Linked DNA regions of Homo sapiens: region 1 is linked to region 2. The links are contacts of gene promoters, found by promoter capture Hi-C in blood cells and fetal thymus (Javierre and others, 2016). All regions are on one chromosome and are shown on one strand. The core of a region is centred on a gene start or on the middle of the fragment in contact, and the rest is flanking DNA. Distances in the headings are between cores, read along the strand shown. Region 1 overlaps ATPAF2 (ATP synthase mitochondrial F1 complex assembly factor 2). Region 2 holds the start of PEMT (phosphatidylethanolamine N-methyltransferase).

Region 1 (5,839 bases), core at 939-3,438, 440 kb before region 2:
GATCTACTGCCTTCTTTTCCTTTTTAAAAAGCCTAAACTTACTAGTTAGGCTCTTGGAAGTACCTGGCACATGGTAGGTAGTCAAATGTGAAAGAAAATAGGAATGAATGAATGAGAAGGGAGGTGCATAAATCAGGCCCATGCATGCTTTTTTTTTTTTTTGAGACAGAGTCTTGCACTGTCACCCAGGCTGGAGTGCAGTGGCGCAATCTTGGCTCACTGTAAGCTCCGCCTCCCGGGTTCACGCCATTCTCCTGCCTCAGCGTCCCGAGTAGCTGGGACTACAGGTGCCCACCACCACACCTGGCTAATTTTTTTGTATTGTCAGTAGAGACGGAGTTTCACCATGTTAGTCTGGATGGTCTCGATCTCCTGACCTCATGATCCACCCTCCTCAGCCTTCCAGAGTGCTGGGATTACAGGCATGAGCCACCGCGCCCGGCCCCCGACCCCCACGTGTTCTCTCTAAAGACCTTACCAGTTGTGAGATATTTGTGCGTATTTGAAGTAGTAGAAGATTAAACCGCAGTGGGTTCTTCTCAATGAACACTTCAGTCAGCAAGCTGATTGAACTTGGCCACTTAGGAATGGCCATGCCATTGAAGGTTATCAGAAGGAGAGGAGGAGTTTACGAAAGGGTCACTGAGGTGTTGGAGAAGGAGATATTGCAACAAGAAGACCTATATGAGGTTGTTGTGGCAGTTTAGTTCTGCACCAGCTTATCAGAGGTCTATTGACTCCCAGAGTGGCAGGTGTTCTGGAGAAACCTATCTATTCAGCGTATCTGGCTGAATGCAACTGCCTGATGAAGTCAAGGCTAGAAGTCTTGTCTCTGCTATTTACCAGTTGTCTGTCACCAAGACAAGATGTTTAGCTTCTCTATCACCTCCGAGGCATTAGCTGCCTTGTCATCCTCATAGAATAGTGGTGTGGATTGAGGGAGATTATGTAGTCTGTAGATCAGGGTCCAGCCTGCCACCTGTTTTTGTAAATAGAGTTTTATTGGAACACAGCCACATGCATTCATTTACATATCATCTATGGCTACTTTCACTACAGTGGCAGAGTTGAATAGTTGGAACAGATATTGTATGGCTTGCAAAGCTTAGAATATTTACTATCTGATTCTTTGCAGAAAAAGTTTGCTAAATGTTATACATTTGGCCTGAAGGATTTTTTTAACAGCTTTATTGAGATATTTACTTGCTATACAATTCATTTACTTGAAGTGTAAATATAATAGTTTTTAGTATATTTACAGAATTGTACAGCCATTGCCACAATCAATTTTAGAACATTTTTATCACCCTTAAAAGAAACCTGCACCCTTTAGCTATCATCCACCCTTACTACTTCCATCCCTTGGCAACTACTACTTTCCTTTGTTCTTTTATAGATTTCCCTGTTTGGGACATTTTATATAAATAGAATGTGGTCTTTTTTGACTGACTTTTTCACTTAGCATAATGTTTTAAAGTTTGGGTTTTTTTTGTTTTTTTTTGTTTTTAAGAGATTGGGTCTCATTCTGTTGCCCAGGCTGGAGTGTAGTGGCACGATCACAGCTCACTGTAACCTCAAACTCCTGGGCTCAAGTGATCCTCCTGCCTCAGCCTCCCAAGTAGCTAGGGCTACAGGCACACACCACCATGCCCGGCTAGCTTTTTAGTGCTTTGTAGAGATGGGGTCTTGCTCAGGCTGACCTCAAACTCCTGGCCTCAAGTGATCCTCCTGCTTCGGCCTTCCAGAGTGCTGGGATTACAGGAGTGAGCCACCATGACCAAACGTTTTTAAGTTTTATCCACCTTGTATCATGTATCAATGACTCCATTCTTCTTTATTGCCAAACAATATTCCATTGTATGTGTAAATATGCCACATTTTACTTATCCATTCATCCATTGGTGGACACAGGGTCGTTTCTACCTTTTGGCTAATATGAATAACGCTACTATGAACATTCATGTACAAGTTTTTGTGTGGACATATGTTTTCATTTCTCTTGGACATATACCTAAGAGTAGAATTACTGGGTCAAATGGTAACTCTGTTTAACTTTTGGAGGATCTGCCAGACTGTTTTTCAAGGTGGCTGTGCCATTTCACATTTCCACCAGCAGTGTTTGAGGGGTCCAGTTTCTCTATATCTCAACACTTGTTGTTGTCTTTTTTATTACAGCTGTCCTAAAGGGTTTGAAGTGGTATCTCATTGTGGTTTTGATTTGCATTTCTCTGATGAATTATGTTGAGTATCTTTTCACGTGCTTAATGGCTATTTGTATATTTTCTTTGAAGAAACGTCTATTCAGATCCCTTGACCATTGTTTTTTTTTAAAGAGAGGGGGTCTTGCTCTGTCACCCAGGTTGTAGTGCAAGTGGCTCAGTTACAGCTTACTGCAGCCTCAACCTCCTGGGCTCAAGCGAGCCTCACACCTCAGCCTCCAAAGTAGCTGGGAACTACAGGTGTGTGCCACCATGCCCAGCTGACTTTAAAATTTTTTTGTACAGACAGGGTCTTGCTATGTTGCCCAGGCTGGTCTCAAACTCCTGGACTCAAGCAATCTTCCCACCTCGGTCTCTCAGACTTGAACATTTTTAAATTGGGTTATTTGTTGTTGTTTTTGAGACAGGGCCTCGGTCTGTTGCCTAGGCTAGAGTGCAGGGGTGTGTTCATGGCTCACTGCAGCCTCAACCTCCCAGGCTCAGGTGATCCTCCCATGTCAGCCTCCTGAGTAGCTGGGACTACAGGCACGTGCCACCATGCCTGGCTAATTTTTGTATTTTTGTAGAGACAGGGTGTTGCCATGTTGCTCAGGCTGGTCTTGAACTCTTGGACTCAAGTGATCCACCTGCCTCAGCCAGCCAAAGTGCTGGGATTACAAGCTCGAGCCACCATGCCCAGCCTATTTGTCTTTTTGTTATTGAGTCGTAAGAGTTCTTTATGTATTTGGGCTGAAGAATTTTGATACCTGAAAAGAGTTGGTTAGAGCCGCCCTAGGATTACAGATGGCCCTGGAGTTAGAATTTCACCTTTAAGGTTTAAGGCCCACCAGATGGCACTGTTTTAAAAGATAAAGGCACTGAGACAGCTCTGAAACCAGTACTTCCTCTTCTTGGTGCACTGTGGGAGTTGTGGTTCCTGAGGCTGGTAATCTTTCTAAAGGAAAGGCCAGTTCTGCATGATCCTACAAAGCTAGGCTGATTTTTTTCATCTTTAAAGACAGGGTTACCATTGATGTCTGCTAACCATGTATTCACCGAGAACATGGAAGCTTCATAGGTTTCTGGTGGTCTCACATTTTGTCTTATGTGACATTGTTGGGGAACATGGATCCCCCAAACGAATTGTCCAGATCATGTTCTTTTTTTTTTTTTTTTTTGAGACAGAGTCTCATTCTGTCACCCTGGTTGGGGTGCAGTGGCGCAATCTTGGTTCACTACAACCTCCGCCTCCTGGGTTCAACTGATTTTCAGCCTCCTGAGTAGCTGGTATTACAGGCAGGCAATACCACACCTCGCCAATTTTTTAATTTTTTGTAGAGACAGGGTTTCACCATGTTGGCCAGGCTGCTCTTGAGCTCCTGGCTTTAAGTGATCTGTCCCCCTCGGCCTCACAAAGTTCTGGGATTACAGGCATGAGCCACCATGCCCGGCCCCAGATCAAGTTCCTGTATGCCTGTGTGGAGCCTTTACTTGGCTCCCTTTGCTGTCTTTGCAGTGATCTACATGTCCCCCATATGTGGCCCCATTGCCCTCTCTAGCATCTTAGAGAATCTTGCATTCTCCTTCTGACCATCTGTCTAGTCCACAACTGCTCTCTAGAAACCCTGGTCCTTCATGCAACCTGTTTCTTCATCTGGAAACTACTTCCACAGCCCTGCTCTGCCAAAAAAAAAAAAAAAAAATTGAATCAATCAGAAAGTTTGGTACCTCCTGCCTCACCTTCAAGTTGCAATTTAATTCTGACTAATCGTTCCACGTGCCTGCCCCATCACAGAAGTCACCTTATTGTTTGCCTGGTTTAGTGTCTGTATTCCTACTAGACAGTAAATGGCTGGAGAGTGCAGAGATGAGCTTTGCACATGTCCCATCCCCAGGACTTGTATGTCCTGGAACATGATCAGTACTCACCAAAGCTTGTTCCAAGACACGTTTGCCCCTCCAAGTGTCAGTGGGTCATTCAGGAGAGCCCCTGGCTAAAACACATCTATGTGCACCTGCCTTCTAATCTGAGGCCTGGCGGCCCCTGGGCTTCTTTTGCCCTTCTGCCGTCTCATTTTCTGCATGGTTTTCTTCTGCTTGGAGAAATTTTTGGTGGCTTCTTCCCTGCCCTCCATCTATCCCACTCCCATCTAGTTTTTTCTTATTCAGTTACAGAAGTGAGCCTGGCCAACAAAACAGAAAAAAGACTTCCCTCTTGGGAAACCTGGCTGTCCCAGGAGCTTTTGAAGGTTCAGCCCTGTGCTGGCAGTTCCTGCCTTGAGTCTGTTCGTCTGCCCCAGGTCTCTTGGGTTCACTTCCCAGACCGGGCCTGGAAGTATGCTAGAGTGCTCACTCTTGTACATTTGTACACTCTGCTGGCTCTTCCTGCTGACATGGGAAGACCCTTTCCCCAGTGTTGAGTCAGAGCTTTCAGAGCCCTTCCCAACTTCCTGCCTGGCCTGGCTTTTATACATGCAGCCCAGCCTGTTGCATTGGAAAACACAAAGGACATGGTCTACCTCACTCCAGACCTGAGAGAGGAAAGGAGGCCTCCAGACCCATGTCTAGCCTGCCATTTGGATATGACCAGGACAGCATGTAGAGAAATTTAAAAGCAGTAGGGTGCTGTAAACTTCTAATTTTAGTGTCAAACGTATGAGATAATCAGTGTTGTGATTTCAGATGAAGGTGCCATAGTAAGACAACATCATCTTGGTGGACAGATCTGATCCTAAAAAAACACTTTATTTTCTTTTTTTTGAGATGGAGTCTTGCTTTGTCACCCAGGCTGGAGTGCAGTGGTGCGATCTCAGCTCACTGCAAGCTCCACCTCCCGGGTTCACGCCATTCTCCTGCCTCAGCCTCCCAAGTAGCTGGGACTACAGGCGCCCGCCACCACGCCCGGCTAATTTTTTGTATTTTTAGTAGAGATGGGGTTTCACTGTGTTAGCCAGGATGGTCTCAATCTCCTGACCTCGTGATCCGCCCGCCTCAGCCCCCCAAAGTGCTGGGATTACAGGCGTGACCACCGCGCCTGGCCTAAAAAAACACTTTAAACTCTGTCTATTTTATTCACTCTTGTATCCCAAGTGCCAAGACACATGGTAGACACACACATATTTTTGTGGGAAAACAATTTGGGCCTTAGTTTAGTAAGTGCAAATGTGGAATGCAATTTTGGGCCCTCTGTCTGTAAGTATTAGTGATAGCAAATGAGATTTATAGAAAACTGATATGATGGGAAAACATAAAAATATTTGGAGTAGGCTGGGCGCAGTGGCTCACGCCTGTAATCCCAGCACTTTGGGAGGCTGAGGTGGGCGGATCACGAGGTCAGGAGATCGAGACCATCCTGGCTAACATGGTGAAACCCCGCCTCTACTAAACAAAATGCAAAAAATTAGCCAGGCGTGGTGGCAGGCACCTGTAGTCCCAGGTACTCGGGAGGCTGAGGCAGGAGAATGGTGTGAACCGAGGAGGCAGAACTTGCAGTGAACCGAGATCGCGCCACTGCACTACAGCCTGGGCGACAAAGTGAGACTCCATCTCAAAAAAAAAAAAAAAAAAGGCCAGGCGCGGTGGCTCACGCCTGCAATCCCAGCACTTTGGGAGGCCAAGGCAGGTGGATCACGAGGTCAGGA
Region 2 (5,908 bases), core at 268-2,767:
ATGCTCCAAAGCCAGTGTCTTTCCTGTCTCCTCGGTTGGCCTGCCCCATCCTAGCGATGTTGTGAAGATTGGGACTACCTCTAAAGCAGCACACAGTGGCTGCTCAGTAAATGCTCAACACTGGTAGGTGCTGTGGGCCAAGGTGGAGAGAAACGGGCCATCTGGAGCAGGAAGCAGCTGACTGCAGAAGTCCTGTCTGGGCCCCCAGCAGTCTGGGTGACTGAGCAAATCTTGGAACCTCTCAGTCTATTTCCCCATATTACATAACACCTGGCTACAAAAGGGCTTTTTTCTTTTTTGAGAGGGAGTCTCGCTCTGTCGCGCAGGCTGGCATGCAATGGCACCATCTCCGCTCACTGCAACCTCCACCTCCTGGGTTCAAGCGATTCTCCTGCCTCAGCCTCCTGAGTAGCTGGGATTACAGGTGCGCGCACCACACCCGGCTATTTTTTGTATTTTTAATAGAGACGGGGTTTCACCGTGTTAGTCACGCTGGTCTCGAACTGCCGACCTCTGGTGATCCGCCCACCTCGGCCTCCCAAAGTGCTGGGATTACAGGCATGAGCCACCACACCCGGCCTACAAAAGGGGTTCTTCTGGGACCCGATCGTCTAAACTCTTCTCCATTTGACCCCCTCCATCACTACTCCACAGCTCACCGGTCTTTTCTCTGTTCCTTAGGTGCCCGTCCTGTCTCCAGGCCTTTGTACATACCATTCGTCTTGCCTTGTTTGCCCTGCCCTCACACTTGGCACATCTGGCACCTCCCCTGCACATTCTAAGACAGCATCCTTCCGTACCATTTGACCCACCCCGTTTTTTCCACCACAGTACTCATCCATATTATAACCCTTTATTCACATTTTGTCTTTTATCTCAGTCAGGAGGAAGCGAGGGCGGGGGACTCTGTGTTGTTCCCTACCGTACCCTCAGCGCACAGTCTGGTTCAGAAAATACTCGAGAGTGAATGAGAGAATGAATGAAGGAAAAAATGAGTGGAGGAGGGGTCTTTGGCCGAGCTAAAGAGCCTGGGCGCCGCGGGGGCGGGAAGCTCTAGGCAGTGCTCGTCGCGCACCGCCCCCAGAGTAAAGCGAATTTCAGAAGAGGGCGTGGGGCCCTGGGCGTGTGGGGCCCTGGGCGTGTGTGACCCGGGCCAAGTCCAAGTCCGCAGGAGGCTGCGCGGGAAGCTGCTTATAGCTACGACCCGCGGCCCCCGGCCTCTAGCCCCACCGCCGCCAGGCAAGGGCAGGGACGCCAGGTCAGTTACAGGCTCGGGTGCGGCAGCCGGCGACCAAAGGCACTGGGCGGGAGGCCGGATCCAAGGGGATACTGCTACGTAGCTGCAGCGGAACCGGCAGGCTCTGCGGCGAAACACACTGGGACTTGTAGTTCTCGGCTCCTCTAGACGCTGTCGCGAGCCCCCAGATAAAGAGGCACTTCGCGGTGACGGGGAACTACATTTCCCAGAAGGCCGGAATATGTTGGGGGTCACCGGGAAAGCGCCCCGACTGGCGGCACTTACCCGGCTCTATAGGTCCGGTTCCGGGGGCGCGTGGCTGCAGCGGGGCCCGCGTGGTGCCTCCTGAGGCGGCCCCCGGATGAAGAGATCTGGGAACCCGGGAGCCGAGGTAACGAACAGCTCGGTGGCAGGGCCTGACTGCTGCGGAGGCCTCGGCAATATTGATTTTAGACAGGTACTGACCGCACCGGACCGCCGCGGAAACTGGGAGAGGGATCTGCAAGGCCCGAGGGGCGTGAAGGCTTGCGGCGCCTCAAACGCTGCGGGGCGGGGCCGCCAGTTCCCAGGCAATGGGGGCGTGGCGTGGCGGGGGTGGGGGAGCCGCGTGCGGGAGCGCCGGCTGGTGTCTGTGTGTGTGCGTGTGCGCGCGCGTGTAAACCTCAGATTGCGTGTGTCAGAGACGGGGGCGTTCCTGAGCTCGTCTGATTGTGTGCCTGTGTGTGGCCCTGAGATTGTGTGAGACTCAGAGGTTGTCCGTGTTAGTCTTTGGGATTGTGTCTCACTGAAATTATGTGATGCTCTGAGAGTGTGCCGGAGAGTGAGTGTGAGTGTGTATGACCGAGGCTGTGTGTGACTGAGCGTGGGCGAGGGTGAAGGAGGCCGATTATATGTTTGGGAGTGTGTTGTGTGGCCCCTGCTCCCGTCCATCCCCCAGGGTCAGGAGGCCAGCTTTTGCCCAGAGGCAAGAGAGTGGTGGGGACCCTGCCTGTCTCCCAGCCGGCCCTGGGCAGGCTGCAGACCACCACCCAGCCGTTTCGGGGCCATAATGGGTGCGACCGGCCCCAGAAGCTGGGGGCCTGGCTTGCCTGCTGAGGCTGCCCTCTGCAGAGTCCTAGGCCAGAGAGTGCCTGTCCTGGCATCTCCCCAGGCTCCCAATTCCAATGGATTCCAATTTCCAACCTCTCTTGCATTCTCCCTTCTATCAAAGCTTCCTCTTAGATGCTCCATTTACCTTTTTCATCACCCACTCTTCATGAAGCCTGTAAGGCACATCTCTGCCCCAAGCAGCTTCTAATCCAGTTCTTTCGCTCCCTTCATTCCTTACTCACATGTGCATTTATTCACTCACTGATCCAGCCAGTATTGATTCAGGGCCGGCTGAGGGCCTCGTGTCACTCAGAAGTTTAAGGGCACTTCTGTCACTGAGCTTTCATTCTAGGGAGGGAGATTGTAGGCCTGGAAAGCCAGAGAGTTCTCTGAAGGAGCTAATACCAGTTAGTGTTTTGAAGAGTAGCTGATGGGAAGGCGGGATTGAAATCCCAAGAGAGCCTGTTGCCGTATCTGCGAGGGAGGGACCTGGGATCTGAGAGCCGAAAGGTCAGTCAGTGGGGCAAGATTCCCCAGAGGAGGGAGGCAGTTGCGAAGCCCTCCAGGAGGCACAGGAGGAGATGGGCCGCTGGCCCTGAGGGAGCGCAGGACCGTTGGCCAGATGGGTGCTCAGCAGAGGACAGGAAGAAGACTATTACTTTAGTAAACTGTCCATTGAATTACAACATGCAGTCAGATGAGTGATGGGTCCTACCCCTACAGCTCCTGCATTTTCACCAGGTGAACCTGTATCTGTTAATCCTCAGATCAAGATGGGGGGTCATGATCACCTCCAGGGGCTGCCCTCAGAAGCCACCGTGTAGAAGGGTGGGTGGGGGAGCCATGTAGAAGGGGGGGCAGAATGCAAGGGGGCAGTGTCCCTTTGCAGACCCATCTAGGGGCCTGCCCCAGGGCCTGCCAGTGGGCAGGGGAGACTAACCGGGTGTGTGAGGGGTGGGCTTCTCTGCTCTTTCTCCTTTCTCCCCAGGGCTGTGCAGCTGGAGAGAGCTGGGGCTGGGGTTCGGGTCAGGGTGACCCTTGTTGACTAACATTCTGCTTTTCTTCTGCTGTCCTTGTTGGTGCAGTTAAGCTTCCTGTTGCCAAGGGATTTTTCTTAAAGAAAGAAAGAAAGAAACATACAACATACAACATTACATATTTGCTTATGTGGTAGCTCTACTCCCTCCTCAATCAAAATCTCCGGTTTTAAAATATGTCAGTCCCTGGCCTGGGAGAGTTGCAAGGTTTTTGTTCACCCCATGGGCGTCTGAGCTGCAGGATCTCCGGTGCTAGCCCTGTGCTGCTGTGCTGTCCAGTAGAAACATCGTGTGCCACATGCATAATTTAAACCTTTCTAGTAGCCATGTTAAATTAGTGAGAAGAAATGGAAAATAGCAAAGAAATAGAAAAATAATTTTGACAATATATTTTATTGTTACCAAAATATATATCAGACATATTTTGTCCTGTGGCATTCCAAGCTTGTGGCACTGCCTGTGACCAGTGGCTGCCATGTCATACCAAACAGTGCTGCTCTGGGTACCATGCCCTCCACCAGCTCTTTTCTGGGCCTGCTTCAGCAGGTACAGAATCTTGCTTTTGTTTTTAAAAAAAAAAAAAAAAAAATCAGCTGTTGGGGCTGGGCACGGTGGCTCACGCCTGTAATCCCAGCACTCTGGGAGGCCAAAGCAGGTGGATCACCTGAGGTCGGGAGTTTGAGACCAGCCTGACCAACATGGAGAAATCCCATCTCTACTAAAAATATAAAAAGTTAGCCAGGCGTGGCGGCACATGCCTGTAATCCCAGCTACTCGGGAGGCTGAGGCAGGAGAATCACTTGAACCCCGTAGGTGGAGGTTGCAGTGAGCTGATATCACGCCATTGCACTCCAGCCTGGGCTAGAAGAGCGAAACTCTGTCTCAAAACAAAAACAAACAACCCAAAGAATCAGCCATTGGGCTGAGGAGTTAGGGTGAGGAGTGTGCCCGCTGCAGCCCCACTGACTAAGGCCCTTTTGCTCCTTGTTGCCCTCCCTGTCAGGATTCTGGAGCCTTGCTCCTCAGCTGGGCAGCTGCCTGAAGGCAGTGGGGTGGCAGATGGATGAGAGCAGGGTCTGCATCTTGCTGTCCACAGGCCGGGGCACCTCCAGGATTCAGAAGATGACTCCAGTAGGGCCTAGGGGTGCGGGCACCCAGGCTGGCAGAGCACACTGAGGTCCTCAGAGCAAGGGCACATGCCCAGGTCTCAGGTCCCTTTTCCATAGCGAATCACCTGCTCACCAGAGCGGGTGAGTGATGATGTCTCCAGCTTGGTGTTGGTGTCAAGAAGAATGGGGACAGTGAGGGGGTTATGGTGAAGACCAGAATGAGATGAGGGGTGTAAAGCTTTATGAAGTATCGAGTGCAGCCCACCTAAGGGTGGTCCTCAAGAAGGCAAAGCCCTTGTATTCAGAAGGCTGAGAGACCTGGGGCAGGGGACACAGGTCCCTGTGTGTAATATGGGCACCCGAGTAAGACCCTGGAGGCAAAGCTCCGATGGCCGATGCGGGGTATCTTGACTGCCTTTCAGGGAAAAATGTTTGCCTTTATCCAAAATCGTTTCCAAAAATCTTTTGATTGTATTACTTTAGTTGAAATAAACATTAGGCCGTTATATTAGATGAGTTACTCTGTGGTGTTTTCAAGGCCGTACATTTTGTCTTCAGTAATTTTGGCATCAGCCAAGACAGAGCAGGGTTGAGGCTTTCCGTGGCTGCTCATCAAAACAATGACAGAAACTCTTGGAGCTTGTTTCCCCTGCCTCTGTTGAGATGACACTGTTTTTCCTCATTAAGCTGTAAATATGAATTCCATTGATGTTTTGAATGTTGAACTAGCTCTGGATTCCTGGGGTGATCTCTGGCTGGTCCTAACATATTATCCTTTGTATATATTGCTGGATTTGATTTGCTCTAATTTTTGGGGGGATCTTCTTTCTTTATCTGGTTTCATTTGATTTAATTAATTTATTTATTTTAAGACAGAGTCTCGCTCTGTTGCTCAGGCATGTACTCAGGAATGCAGTGGCGTGATACCAGCTCATTGCAACCTCCGCCTCCCGAGTTCAAGCAATTCCCCCACCTCAGGCTCCCGAGTAGCTGGGATTACAGGTGCACCTACCACCACACCTGGTTTTTGTTTTGTTTTGTTTTGTTTTTTGTATTTTTAGTAGCGACAGGGTTGTTGGCCAGGCTGGTCTCAAACTCCTGACCTTAAGTGATCCACCCACCTTGGCCTCCCAAAATGCTGGGATTACAGGCGGTGAGCCACTGCACCCGGCCTGGTTTTAGTGTTAGGGTAATACAGTGAGTTGGGAAGTATTGCCTCCCTCTTCCATATTCTGGAAGAGATTGTGTGGAATTGGAATTATTTTTTCCTTAAATGTTAGGCAGAATTCATCCAGGAAACCATCTGGGCTCAAGGCTTTCTTTTTTTAGGTTTTTAAGCCATAAATTCAAATCCTTTAAAAGATAAAGGATTATTTCTTGAATGAATTTTGACAGTTGTGTCTTGCAAGGATCGGTTCATTTCATCTAAGTTACTT

Evidence for each region. The method cuts DNA at HindIII sites, captures the fragments that hold promoters and counts their contacts. A CHiCAGO score of 5 or more calls a contact.
Region 1: a contact is called between a fragment that was not itself captured here and the fragment with the promoter of PEMT in region 2, in 3 of 17 cell types (naive CD4 T cells, non-activated CD4 T cells and total B cells). The highest score is 6.2, in naive CD4 T cells.

The regions. Positions count from the first base shown.
Region 1 is chr17:18,030,899-18,036,737 of GRCh38, reverse strand. All of the region lies in intron 1 of ATPAF2 (ATP synthase mitochondrial F1 complex assembly factor 2), which reads left to right. Among named protein-coding and RNA genes, the nearest start is that of ATPAF2, 5.4 kb to the left of the region's middle. The HindIII fragment of the contact is 2,164 bases long and covers 1,107-3,270 here.
Region 2 is chr17:17,587,317-17,593,224 of GRCh38, reverse strand. It overlaps PEMT (phosphatidylethanolamine N-methyltransferase), which reads left to right and starts at 1,517. Exons shown (of 7, transcript NM_148172.3): 1 at 1,517-1,694. The coding sequence starts at 1,599. RefSeq lists enhancers at 1,376-1,765, 1,331-2,072. The HindIII fragment of the contact is 3,820 bases long and covers 1-2,449 here.